Linked DNA regions of Homo sapiens: all the other regions are linked to region 2. The links are contacts of gene promoters, found by promoter capture Hi-C in human tissues and cell types (Jung and others, 2019). All regions are on one chromosome and are shown on one strand. Each heading gives the region's core, a stretch centred on a gene start or on the middle of the fragment in contact. The rest is flanking DNA. Distances are from core to core; before and after follow the strand shown.

The links. Contacts are between HindIII fragments. The study calls those that stand out against the background at their distance.
Region 1: a fragment that was not itself captured here is called in contact with the fragment with the promoter of ERVV-1 in region 2 in 4 of the 25 tissues and cell types used here (dorsolateral prefrontal cortex, mesenchymal stem cells, pancreas and 1 more).
Region 3: a fragment that was not itself captured here is called in contact with the fragment with the promoter of ERVV-1 in region 2 in 7 of the 25 tissues and cell types used here (bladder, dorsolateral prefrontal cortex, heart left ventricle and 4 more).
Region 4: a fragment that was not itself captured here is called in contact with the fragment with the promoter of ERVV-1 in region 2 in 4 of the 25 tissues and cell types used here (bladder, dorsolateral prefrontal cortex, mesenchymal stem cells and 1 more).
Region 5: a contact is called between a fragment that was not itself captured here and the fragment with the promoter of ERVV-1 in region 2, in 2 of the 25 tissues and cell types used here (dorsolateral prefrontal cortex and spleen).

Annotation. Positions count from the first base shown.
Region 1 is chr19:53,492,907-53,495,606 of GRCh38, reverse strand. ZNF813 (zinc finger protein 813) reads right to left here. Exons shown (of 4, transcript NM_001004301.4): 4 at 1-2,700. Among named protein-coding and RNA genes, the nearest start is that of ZNF813, 27 kb to the right of the region's middle. RefSeq lists an enhancer at 2,325-2,700. The HindIII fragment of the contact is 8,734 bases long and covers 1-2,700 here.
Region 2 is chr19:53,012,498-53,015,197 of GRCh38, reverse strand. ERVV-1 (endogenous retrovirus group V member 1, envelope) reads right to left here and starts at 1,277. Exons shown (of 1, transcript NM_152473.3): 1 at 1-1,277. The coding sequence starts at 1,107. The region is part of intron 1 of LOC124904758 (a long non-coding RNA gene); the gene reads left to right. The HindIII fragment of the contact is 3,820 bases long and covers 269-2,700 here.
Region 3 is chr19:53,379,508-53,382,207 of GRCh38, reverse strand. ZNF525 (zinc finger protein 525) reads right to left here. Exons shown (of 4, transcript NM_001348156.2): 4 at 1-1,486. The coding sequence ends at 189. Among named protein-coding and RNA genes, the nearest start is that of ZNF765, 14 kb to the left of the region's middle. The HindIII fragment of the contact is 5,110 bases long and covers 1-2,700 here.
Region 4 is chr19:53,353,313-53,356,012 of GRCh38, reverse strand. ZNF845 (zinc finger protein 845) reads right to left here. Exons shown (of 4, transcript NM_138374.3): 4 at 1-2,700. The coding sequence ends at 2,425. It also overlaps the pseudogene LOC107987264. Among named protein-coding and RNA genes, the nearest start is that of ZNF525, 11 kb to the left of the region's middle. The HindIII fragment of the contact is 6,579 bases long and covers 1-2,700 here.
Region 5 is chr19:52,652,694-52,655,393 of GRCh38, reverse strand. It overlaps LOC122539214 (Zinc finger protein LOC122539214), which reads left to right. Exons shown (of 4, transcript NM_001396016.1): 4 at 991-2,700. It also overlaps a transcript of ZNF83 not described here. Among named protein-coding and RNA genes, the nearest start is that of ZNF83, 16 kb to the right of the region's middle. The HindIII fragment of the contact is 5,670 bases long and covers 1-2,700 here.

The DNA.
Region 1 (2,700 bases), core at 180-2,679, 480 kb before region 2:
ACTCCTGACTATTGTTTCTGCTGTTACCTGTCAGTCCTCTTCATTGTGGCACAAACAAGATAAATTTTTTTGTAAAACTGATGTGCAAGGGGCATGGTGGCTCATGCCTGTAATCTCCACACTTTGGGAGGCTGAGGTGGGCAGATCGTGAGGTCAGGAGTTCAAGACCAGCCTTGCCAACATGGTGAAACCCCGTCTTACTAAAAATACAAAAATTAGCTGATGTGGTGGCACGCGCCTGTAGTCCCAGCTACTAAGGAGGCAGAGACAGGAGAATCACTTGAACCCGGGAGGCAGAGGTTGCAGTGAGCCGAGATTGCACCACTGCATTCCAGCCTGGGAGACAGAGCGAGACACCATCTCAAAAAAACAACAACAACAAAAACAAACAAAAAAACTGATGTGGATGGTGTGCCTGCCACTCCATGCATCACCTTCAACATTGTCTTGTCCCAACTCAAACTAAGTTATCCATTTACAAACTGTTTATTTCTTCTGGGCATCATCTCCATAATCTTTTCATAAAGCATCAATGATTTCATTATTCCTCTACCCAAACTTTACAAGAAGTATTTTTTTTTTTGAGCCAGTATCTCGCTCCATCACCCATGCTGGAATGCAGTGGCATGATCATAGCTCACTGCAGCCTCAACCTCCCAGGCTCGAGCTATCCTCCTACCACAGACTCCACAGCAGCTGGCCCTGCATGCATGTGCTACCGTGCCCAGCTAATTTTTGTATTTTTTGTAGACAAGGGGGTTTCACCATGTTGCCCAGGCTTGTCTTGAATACCTGGGCTTACATGACCCACCTGTCTTGGCCTCTGAAAGTGCTGGGATTACAGGCCTGAGCCACTGCATCTGGTCTCACTGTAAATTTGATGCTCCTTTTTGTTTCAATTTTAGCAGGATTTATATTGCTTTGATAGAGTCTCTTTTCTTTTCTTTTCTTTTTTTTTTTTTTGAGACAGAGTTTCGCTCTTGTTGACCAGGCTGGAGTGCAATGGTGCAATCTCGGCTCACAGCAATCTCTGCCTCCCGGGTTCAAGCCATTCTCCTGCCTCAGCCTCCAGAGTATCTGGGATTACAGGCATTTGCCACCATGCCTGGCTAATTTTGTATTTTTAGTAGAGATGCTGTTTCTCCATGTTGGTGAGGCTGGTCTCGAACTCTGGATCTCAGGTGATCCACCCACCTTGGCCTCCCAAAGTGTTGGGATTACAGGCATGAGCCACTGCGCCCGGCAGAGAAAGTCTCTTTTAAAACTCATGTCTTATCCTTCTGGGTGCCTCAAACTAGGACCTGTTCAGACATAACAGATTCGTACCAGTTTATTTTGGTGCAAAAACTGGGAAATTCATACACAATTTTCTCATAATATGCAAAATATGTATTTTTCCATGAACTTCTTGAAGACCCCTTGTACTAAAAAGCTGTATTCAAGAGGATGTAAAAAGGACTGTAGATACTCAAGTGCCACTTATTTCTGGGATGCAAGGATGGTTCAACATAGTCAAGCAAATCAATGTGATATGCCACTTGAACAGAATGAAAGATGAAAACCACATCATCTCAATAGATGGAGAAAAAGTATTTCACAAAATTCAAAATCCACTCATCATAGAAATTCTGAACAAAATAGACAGAAAAGGAAATTTACCTCAACAATAGAAAGGCCATCCATGAAATGACCAACGAGTAGATAACGAAGCAGGGAACATGGAATGATTTTCCTGTAGGATCTCACATGATGGAAGAATGCTCTCACCCCTTCTATTCAATAAATACTGGCTGTCCTAGCCAGAGCAATGAAATAGCAAAAGAAATCAAACCCATCCAAATCAGAAAGAAAGAAGTAAAATTATATGTGTTTGTAGATGACATGATCTTCTGTGTAGAAAATCACAAAGACTCAACCAAAATACTACTGGAAGTAATAAACAGATTCAGTGTATCTGCACAGTACAATATCAGCACCAAAAATTAGCTGAATTTCCATACATTAACAATAAACAATTTTAAAAGAAAATTTAAAAACACTTCCATTTGCTAGAGAACTTAAAGTAAGAAATACTTAGGAATAAAAGCAAAAAGATGAGAAGTTTGTAACAATAAACAATTTTAAAAGAAAATTTAAAAACACTTCCATTTGCTAGAGAACTTAAAGAAATAGAAATAAAAGTAAAAAGGTGAGAAGTTTGTACCTTGAAATCTACAAATATACATCAATATGATTAAAAACATATACAGACATATAACCCATATTGATGGATTGGAAAAATTAATATTGTTAAATGATTATATAACCCAATGTGATTTAGATTCAACACGGTACCCATAAAAATCCCTATCAGTTTTTGTTAAAGAACAAAAAGCAAACTGGGAAAAGTGGCTCATGTTTGTTGGCCAGACTGATCTGAAACTCCTGACCTCAAGTGATCTACCCGCCTTGGCCTCCCAAAGTGCTGGGATTACAGGTGTGAGACACTGTACCTGGCCCAATCCTCTTAACATAAACACTTTAATGTCAATTACTGCTTGATGGTTTGCTCTACTCATTGCATTTGGAACAATTATCTCAAAATGAATTTTCTGATATTCTGCAAGGAGTGAAGTCAGACTGAAAACCTTGCCACACTGATGACATTTGTAAGATTTCCGTCCAGTGTGCATTCTCTGATGTCTAAGGAGGTGTGAACGT
Region 2 (2,700 bases), core at 28-2,527:
TTTAGAGATGCTATCTCTGGTACTCTTAGCTATGTTGTCTATTTGTCTGGAGAGATTTCTGAGGGTGACATCATGATAAGTGAACCCTCCCCATGGGGCGATCATTCCTATGGCCGCACCCATCCCTGCCAGTATTAGACCCAGAGCTCTTTTCTGTCTGGGTTGGGTGGTGTTATAAATGGTCACACCTATCCCCCGTGGTCCCAAAAGTCCCACAGCACATTCTCCCGTATGTTGGATGTTATTAATGCAAGTGTAGAGGTTTGCCACAGGGGGGGTTGAATAAGTTATCTTAGGACTTCCATCAAAGGGCAGTTTATTTTTTTGTGGCCCACATAAAAATACATAGCCAGGAGGGGTACAGGCCCACCGGGGGATGTGGCTGTCGAACCACTTGTGTAACTGCGATTTCCACCCTGCTGGAATAGTTTGATTGCATGCAGGGGATAGAGGCCCTCCCAGGGGAACAGTAGATTTTGGCCATGTGGGGACAGTGTGTGCCTTGGGAAGCAAATATAGAACCCTCCATGTGATTAGCTCTTTTCCTTCCCAAGCTGCACAGCGGTTTTGGGGTGACTTGTCTCGATAATCGTTCATTTGTTTAGCTGGACACCAGTGAGTCAAGTTAGGGTGGCAGCCTGCTGGGGAGAAGCTCATGGGATGGATGGTGGGACTGGGGAATCCCTCCTCAGAGGTGTTCTTCCTGTCACAGTGTCCTTCAGGGCATGGACAACAGGTTTGGTTTAGAGAAGAGCAGTTGTAGAAATAGAAAGAAGTTTTAGAGCTTTGATTGAAAGGTGGAGTGAGATCCAGGCAGGGGACTTGGTGCGCTGAGTTAGCAAGCGAAACCTGGAGCGGAACAGATTTATGTTGGCCTTCAGGGATTCCTGAACCAAATGTTAGGTTTAAAGAAAAATTTCTTACCAAAATATATTGGTAAGATGAGGACCTGGTGATGAAGTTGTGGCAGATCCAACAGTTGCTTAGATGGTTTCCCGAAGCAATTATTTTGGAAAAACTGACAAGGGAATTTTCATTCCACTGTGCCTGTGAGAGTAGGGGCATGGGAAGGAGGGAAAGATAAAGGAAAAGGAATTTCTCTGTCATAGCTGATTCTCCCTTAAGCTTTGTGAAAGCAAAAGGAAAGTGCTGAAAATAGGAGAGACAAATAATGAAATGGTTCGATGGAGTGTTTAGTGAGAAATCAGGCTGTTATCGGGACTTCAGGTGGCATGCCAGTGTGGGTCAAAATAAGGAGAAGAACCGATGCCACCGCAACCAAGATTCCCCGTACTGAGAGACCTTTTTTTGAGGTGAAAGGAGAGAAGGCTTTACTTATCTTTTCACTTGAAGAGGAATTGGAAGCTCTCCAGTGGCTGGCTCATGAGACTACTCAGATGCTGATTCTGTTGTTGGTTCTTCGGGACCTTCTCACAGTTTTACTCAGGAGTGATGTATCCAACTAGAGATTCCAGAAACTTTGATAGCTGTCGGGGTAGAAAGTAATAAAGGGGCCTTTCCATAAAGGAGAGACCCAGGCTAGTTGAGACCTGGGTGACCCATCTCTCCAGGTTTTGATGAGGACTTGTGACCCTGGCTAGTATAAGGGTTGATTACTGGAGGGGTCAGTGGCAGGCAGTACCTTTTGCTCAAACTCCTGGATGGCTTGTTGAAATTGGGCCAGTGATGTTATGTATTTGATTAATTGGGTAACTTCTGGATCTAACATTAGGTCTGCATGTAGGAAGGCATAAGTAATATTAGGGGTCATGCTCAGAACAGTGCTACGGACAGGAGTTCTAACCATGGTGAGGAGGTTTCCTGGCACACTTTGTTCAGGGTCCTTTTAATAGTTTGATTAGTGCTTTCTACCTTGCCAGAGGAATGTGTTCTCCAGGAGTGCTAGGAGTACTTTATTTCTAGGGCTTTTGTCACTAATTAAAGGGTGCGTGAAATAAAAACTGGGCCGTTGTCACTTTGTAAACACAAACTAAACCCACACTGAGGGGTGATTTTTTTTTTCTTTTTGTTTTTGAGACGGAGTCTCGCTCTGTTGTCCAGGCTGGAGTGCAGTGGCACAATCTCAGCTCACCACAAGCTCCACCTCCCGGGTTCACACCATTCTTCTGCCTCAGCCTCCTGAGTAGCTGGGACTATAGGCGCCCGCTACCACACCCACCTAATTTTTTCTCTTTTTTAGTAGAGACAGGATTTCACTGTGTTAGCCAGGATGGTCTCAATTCTCTGACCTCGTGATCCGCCTGCCTCGGCCTCCCAAAGTGCTGAGATTACAGAAGTGAGCCACCACGCCCGGCCGGGATGATTTTTTTTTTTTTTTTAAGAAGTACCTTGGCTACTTCCTGGGCCTTTTCTGTTCTTGTAGGAAAGGCTTTAACCCACCCAATAAAGGTGTCCACAAACACCAGAAGGCATTTATAGCCTCTACAGGCTGGCAATTGAGTGAAATACATCCATCAGTCTTTCCCTGGGTAAGCTTCCCAATGCTGAACTGGCTCAACTAAGCAGGACAGGGAGCTGCATTGGCTCTGGCCGGTTGTCCTGGGTCACAAGGAGGCAAGGCTACGCGTTTGAGGCCAACCTGGGCAACATTGAACAAAAAAAAAAATTTGGCTGGGCACGGTGGCTCATGCCTGTAATCCCAGCACTTTGGGAGGCCGAGGCAGGCGGATTACCTGAGGT
Region 3 (2,700 bases), core at 75-2,574, 370 kb before region 2:
CTCCTATGTCTTTCAAGGTTTGATTTGAAACTGAAAGCTTCATCACATTCTTCACATTTGTAAGGTTTCTCTCCACTATGAAATTTATGATGGTATACAATGGATGACGTATGACTGAAGATCTTGCCACAATCATTACACTTATAACATTTCTCTCCAGTATGAATTTTCTGACGTATTTCAAGATTTTATTTGAAACTGTAAGCCTTGTCACATTCTCCACACTTGCAAGGTTTCTCTCCACTATGAAGTCTACAATGGCAGGTAAGGGATAACTCCTGACTGAAGGTCTTGCCACACTCATTACATTTGTACAGTTTCTCTCCATTATGAATTCTCCTATGTCTTTCAAGACTTGATTTGAAACGGAAAGCTTCATCACATTCTTCACACTTGTAAGGTTTCTCTCCAGTATGAAGTCTACGATGGCATGTAAGGGTTGACATATGACTGAAGGTCTTGCCACAATCATTACACTTGTATGGTTTCTCTCCAGTATGAGTTATCCTATGACTTTCAAGGTTTGATTTGAAACTGAAAGCTTTGTCACATTCTTCACATTCGTAAGGTTTCTTTCCAGTATGAATGCTACGATGGCATGCAAGGTATGACTTCTGACTAAAGGTCTTGCCACACTCATTACACTTATGTGGTTTCTCTCCAGTATGAATTCTCCTATGTCTTTGAAGGGCTGAATTGTGTCTGAAAGCTTTGTCACATTCTTCACATTTGTAAGGTTTCTCTCCAGTATGAAGTCGATGATGATATGTAAGGGATGACATCTGACTGAAGGACTTGCCACACTCATTACACTTGTAAGGTTTCTCACCAGTGTGACATCTACGATGGCGTGCAAGGTATCGCTTCCGAATAAAGACCTTGTCACATACATCACATTTATATTGTTTCTCTCCTAGATGAATAATCTGATGTTTCCTTAAGAGTGAGCTATAATTAAAGGCTTTGCCACTCTCAATACATTGGAAAGATTTTTCTCTCATGCGTACTTCCTGTCTTTGTGTGAGTAATGAATAATTCAGAAAATTATCCCCATAGTTATTAGATATATGGGTTTTGGGCCTACAAGAAATTCTTTGGGCTGTTGAAACCGAGGAAGCATCGTTGATAGACTTCTCCACTTGATTATTAATTTTCCCTTTGGGCTGAAATATGTGGAGTTCAGACAGATGTGAATGAAAGCTTGATCCAAGCTGATATTTAATAGGCTTGTTTCCAGCATGCCTGTGATCATATTGCTCTGTACTACCCATCAATTTTTTGATTTTTGTCATGGGTGCTTCATGGCCATTTCTTTCATCTTCTTGCCACTGAAACTCAAAGTTATGAATATCTTTCTCAATTTCCTGGAAGGAAAAATCTCCAATGTGATGACGTTCATGTCTTTGCAATGTCCCTGTGTGGATCACTTCTGTATTGCCTTGTGCTGTTGATGAGAACTCCTTCATTGTGCATTTGGAAGAGATACCTACAAAATATAAACACTAATAGGTACACAAAAGACAATACTGATTTTAAACTTCCCAAACATGATCTTCAAAGTTTAGGAACACAAAATCGTAAGATTCTTTAATAAATAAAGGGCGATTACATGTGCTTCAAATTATTATTATGAAAGCTTATTTCCAATATCATGACAAAACACTGAAGGGCACAAACATGTGTAAGCCTAAAATAAGGAGTATTTTTCCACTGTGACCCTAAAGTGTCTAACAGTTTGCAAAAGACATATCACTGTCACATCAATGAAAAGTATATATTCTTCATATTTACAGCATACTTACTGTATACAAATAAATACTAAAGGACCACACAATATAATATACTGGTAAATAATCCACAGCAAGCTCATGTAAGGATAACCAAAATCAATGGAAATTCTGTATTGTTAAATAATCATAGCACTGAGAAGATAAGAAAAGTTTACAAAATTTAGCAAGGCATGGTGGTGCACGTCTGTACTCCCAGCTACTCGCAAGGGTGAGGTACAAGAATTGCTTGAACCCAAGAGGCAGAGGTTGCAGTGAGCCGAGATCGCACCACTGTACTTCAGCCTGGATGACAAAGTGAGACTCCATCTCAAAAAAAAAAAAATATTTTTCTGAATAACTGTCATAAAATTACCTATATCCATGCAGAAAAGGCATATTGTAACATTTAAAATTTTTTTTTTATTTTTGTATTTTTGAGACAATGTTTCACTGTGTCACAACAGGCTGGAGGGCAATGGCCTGATCTCAGCTCACTGCAACCTCCACCTTTTGGGTTCAAGCCATTCTCCTGCCTCAGCCTCCTGAGTACATGGGATTACAGGCACATGCCAGCATGCTTGGCTAATTTTTGTATTTTTAGTAGAGATAGGGTTACATCATATTGGCCAGGCTGGCCTTGAACTTTTGACCTCAAGTGATCCACCCGCCTCAGCCTCCCAAAGTCCTGGGATTGCAGGCGTGAGCCACAGCACCCGCTGGCACTTTGTGACATTAACTAGTAAACTGTGTCAGTTATATTGCATACCACATACCGAAAAGCTTTATGTAAAATCATAAAAATGAATTGGTAAAATAACTGTAACGCATAAAACCAGCAAGCAAATCATAAGTACATTTATACAAACTGCAGAATTCTAAACAATTCCCTGTTAAGAAAAAAGCACAACTTCTACTTACCACCAGCACACAA
Region 4 (2,700 bases), core at 42-2,541, 340 kb before region 2:
GGATATAAAAAGGGATTGTAAACATCCAAGTGCTACCTATTCATGGGATGCAAGGATGGTTCAACATACTCAAATCAATGGGATACACACTTGCACAGAATGACAGATAAAAAACACATTATCTCAATAGATAGAGAAAAAGCATTTCACAGAACTCAATATTCATTCTTCGTAAAAATCCTAAACAATATAGGTAGAGTTTTACCTCAAAAATATAAAAATCATCCATGAAATGACCACAGCTGAAATAACCAATGAAGGAAAATGGAATGGTTTTCCTGTAGGATATCACATGATGCAAGAATGCTCTCACCCCTGATATTCAATAAATACTGGCTGTCCTAGGCAGAGCAATTAAATAGCAAAAGAAATAAAACTCATCCAAATCAGAAAGACAGAAGTAAAATTACATTTGTTGGGGCCGGGCTCATGGCTCACACCCATAATCCCAGCAATTTGCAAGTCCGAAGTGGGCGGATAATGAGGTTAGGCGATCTAACATATTCTTTCAAGTTCTCTTCAAGGTACTCACCATGTTGGCCCACCATCTGGGCCAACATGGTGAAACCCCGTCTTTACTAAAATAAAAAAAATAAATAAATTAGCTAGGTGTGGTGACATGCGCCTGTAGTCCCAGCTACTCAGGAGGCTGAGACAGAATTGCTTGGACGTGGGAGACAGAGGTTGCAGTGAGCAAAGATCATTCCACGGCACTCTAGCCTGGCGACAGAGAGAGACATTGTCTCAAAAAAAAAAATTATTTCCTTGTAGATGATACGACATTCTATATAGAAAATCACTGGCTGGGTGCGGTGGCTCACACCTGTAATCCCAGAACTTTGGGATGCTGATGGGGGCGGATCACCTGAAGTCAGGAGTTCAAGAAAAACCTGGTCAACATGGTGAAACCCCGTCTCTACTAAAAATACAAAAAAATTATACGGACATGGTGGCAGGCACCTGTAATCTCAGTTAGTAGGCAGGAGAATCACTTAAACCCGAAAGGCAGAGGCTGCAGTGAGCCAAGATCGTGCCATTGTACTCCAGTCCAAGTGACAAGAGTGAGACTCCTTCTCAAAAAAAAAGAAAAGAGCCTGGGTAACAGAGTGAGACTGTCTCAAAAAAAAAAGAAAGAAAATCACAAAGAATCAACCAAGATTTTACTGATACTAATAAACCCACTCAATGTATTTGCAGAATACAAAATCAGCACCCAAAATTAGTTGAATTTCCTTACATTAACAATAAATAATGTTTAAAGAAACTTATGAACACACTTCAATTTGCTATGAAACTTAATACTTACAAATAAACTGAATTAAGGAGGTGAGAAGCTTGTACCTTGAAATCTACATTGATCAAAAAAACTAAATAGACATACAACCCATATTGATGGATTGGAAGTCTTAATATTGTTGAATGATTATACAAACAAATGTGATTTAGATTCAACAGATACCCATAAAAACCCGTAACAGTTTTTATTAAAGAAACAAAATACAGGGTGGGAAAAGTGACTCATGTCTGTTGGCCAGTCTGGTCTCAAACTCCTGACCTCAAGTGATCTATTGGTCTTGGCCTCCCAAAGTGCTGGGATTACAGGCGTGAGCCACCCCGCCTGGCCCAATCTTCTTAACATAAACACTTTAATGTCAATTAATGCTTGAACTCAATGTTAAGTCAATTCAAACTCAAGTCAATGCTGAATTGACTCTAATGCCAATTAATGCTTGATGGTTTGCTATACTCATTGCATTTGGAACAATCATCTCAAAAATGAATTTTCTGATGTTCCTTAAGGGGTGATCTCAGACTGAAGACCTTGCCACACTGATGACATTTGTAAGATTTCTGTCCAGTATGGATTCTCTGATGTCTAATTAGGTGTGAACGTGAAGTAAAGGCTTTGCTGCAATCATCATACTTGTGAAGTTTGTCTCCTGTATGAAGTCTCCTGTTTTGCATAAGATGAAGCTAGACTGAAGACCTTGCCACAATCATGACATTTGTAAGGTTTCTCTCCAGCATGAGTTCACCGATGAACTGCAAGGTATGAACAATGTCTGAAAAATTTGCCACATTTATTACACTTTCAAAATCTCTCATTATGGATTCTCCAATGATTTGAAACGGTTGTAGTGTTACTGAAGACTTTGTGATAATCATTACATTAGTAAAGTTTCCCTATACCATGGATTGCCTGATGGTGAATAAGTGTTGACTGCCCACTAAAGGCTTTGCCACACTCAGTACACTTGTAAGGTTTCTCTCCAGTGTGACTTCTAGTTTGTTGGGCCAGGTGTGAATCACGCCCAAGATTCTTGTCACAAACTCTTACATTTGTAAGCTTTCTCTCCAGTATGAATTCTCCTGTCTTTCAAGACTTGATTTACAACTGTAAACTTTGTCACATTCTTCATATTTCTAATGTTTCTTTCCAGTATGAATTCTATGATGACGTGCAAGTTTTGCTTTTCGATTAAAAACCTTGCCACATTCATTACACTTGTAAGGTTTCTCTCCAGTATGAATTGTCTTATGAATTACAAGGACTGAATTGTGACGGAAGGTTTTGCCACACTCATTACACTTGTAAGGTTTCTCTCCAGTATGAATTCTATGATGACATGCAAGGTGTGCTTGTTGATTAAAAACCTTACCACATTTATTACACTTGTAAGGTTTCTCTCCAGTATGAAG
Region 5 (2,700 bases), core at 82-2,581, 360 kb after region 2:
CTATCCTATGGAGTGGTTTTACATAAAAACAGAACATTCATGAACACTTTGACTAATAGAATTGAACGTCATCCTGCTCTAAGCAGAGATGCCCCTGGTAGCCCTGAGCAGAATTGTCAGGGTGGCCCAGGAGATGAGCTAGAAAGCATGACAGTGACTGACAAGTGTTTCCAGCTGTGATTCTGCTTTTGTTTTGTTTTGTTTTTTGAGACAGAGTCTCCCTCTCTTGCTCAGGCTGGAGTGCACTGTTGTGATCTCAGCTCATTGCAACCTCCGCCTCCTGCATTCAAGCAATTCTCATACCTCAGCCTCCCAACCTAACTGGAATTACAGATGCAAGTCACCATGCCTTGCTAATTTTTGTATTTTTATTAGAGATGGGGAATCACCATGTTGGCCAGGCTGGTCTCAAACTCCTTGTCTCAAGCAATCTGCCCACCTCAGCCTCTAGCCAAGTGTTGGGATTACAAACCTGAGCCACCACCCTTGGCCTTTTGTTCTGGTTTTTAAGGAGCATCACAGAAGCATCTCTCACTGGTACTGTGACAGTGATCATCACATAAACTAATGATCATGTTCTCTAAACAGCAGTCACTGCTGTAGAAATTCCTCTTAGGGAGGACATCATTCAGGCTTACTGCATCATATATATGAGGCTCTTGACTGAACTCTGTTTGACATGGAATTTTGCTCTTGTTGCCCAGGCTGGAGTGCAATGATGTGATCTCTGTTCACTGCAATCTCTGCCTCCTAGGTTCAAGAAATTCTCCTGCCTCAGCGTCCTGAGTAGCTGGGATTACAGGCATCCACCACCATGCCTGGCTAATTTTTGTATTTTTAATAGAGACAGGGTGTTCTTAAACTTTGAAGATCATATTTGGGAATTTTAAAATAAGTATTGCTTTTTGTGTAATATTAACACATTTCAGTATTAAATATTATTTACCATCTGTACTTAATTGGAAACCTATTGGTCTTTATATTTTTTAGATAGCTCTTTAAAATCCATGACGGAGTTCTCATCAACAGGGCACGGTAATACAGGAGAAGTGATCCACACAGGGACATTGCAAAGACATAAAAGTCATCACATTGGAGATTTTTGCTTCCCAGAAATCAAGAAAGATATTCATGACTTTGAGTTTCAGTGGCAAGAAATTAAAAGAAATGGCCATGAAGCACCCATGACAAAAATCAAAAAGTTGACTGGTAGTACAGACCGACGTGATCAAAGGCATGCTGGAAACAAGCCTATTAAAGATCAGCTTGGATCAAGCTTTTATTCACATCTGCCTGAACTGCACGAATTTCAGACTGAAGGGAAAATTGATAATCAAGTGGAGAAGTCTATCAACAATGCTTCCTTGGTTTCAACATCCCAAAGAATTTCTTGTAGGCTCAAAACCCATATTTCTAATAGGTATGGGAAGAACTTTCTCCATTCTTCATTATTGACACAAATCCAGGAAGAACACATGAGAGAAAAACCTTTCCAATGTAATGAGTGTGGCAAAGCCTTTAATTATAGCTCACATTTAAGAAGACATCATGTAACCCATTCAGGAGAGAAACAATATAAATGTGATGTATGTGGCAAAGTGTTTCATCAAAAGCAATACCTTGCATGGCACCATAGAGTTCATACTGGAGAAAAACCTTACAAGTGTAATGAGTGTTCCAAGACCTTCGGTCACAAGTCATCTCTTACACGCCATCATAGACTTCATACTGGAGAAAAACCTTACAAGTGTAATGAGTGTGGTAAGACCTTCAGTCAGACGTCATCCCTTGTAGGGCATCGTAGACGTCATACTGGAGAGAAACCTTACAAATGTGAAGGATGTGACAAAGTTTACAGTTGCAGATCACAACTTGAAACACATAGGCGAATTCATACTGGAGAGAAACCATACAAATGTAAGGTTTGTGACAAAGCTTTTAGGCATAATTCATGCCTTTCACGCCATAACAGAGTTCATACTGAAGAGAAACCTTACACATGTAATGAATGTGGCAAGGTTTTCCAGCGTGATTCATACCTTGCACAACATCAGAGAGTTCATACTGGAGAGAAACCTTACACATGTAATGAATGTGGTAAGGTTTTTAATCAAAAAGCACACCTTGCATGTCATTATAGGCTTCATACTGGAGAGAAACCTTACAAGTGTAATGAGTGTGGCAAGACCTTCAGTCAGAAGTCATCCCTTGTGGGCCATCGTAGACTTCATACCGGAGAAAAACCTTACAACTGTCATGAGTGTGGCAAGACCTTTGCTCGAAATTCATCCCTTCTAATTCATAAGGCAATTCATACTGGAGAGAAACCTTACAAGTGTAATGAATGTGGCAAGGTTTTTAATCAACAGTCAAACCTTGCACAACATCAGAGAGTTCATACTGGAGAGAAACCTTACAGGTGTAATGAGTGTGGCAAGACCTTCAGTCATATGTCATCCTTTGTATACCATTATAGACTTCATAGTGGAGAGAAACCTTACAAGTGCAATGAGTGTGGCAAGACCTTCAGTCATATGTCATCCTTTGTATGCCATCATAGACTTCATACTGGAGAAAATCCTTATAAGTGCAATGAGTGTGGCAAAGCCTTTAGTGGGCAGTCATCACTTATTCATCATCAAGCAATCCATGGTATAGGGAAACTTTACAAATGTAATGATTCTCACAAAGTCCTCAGTA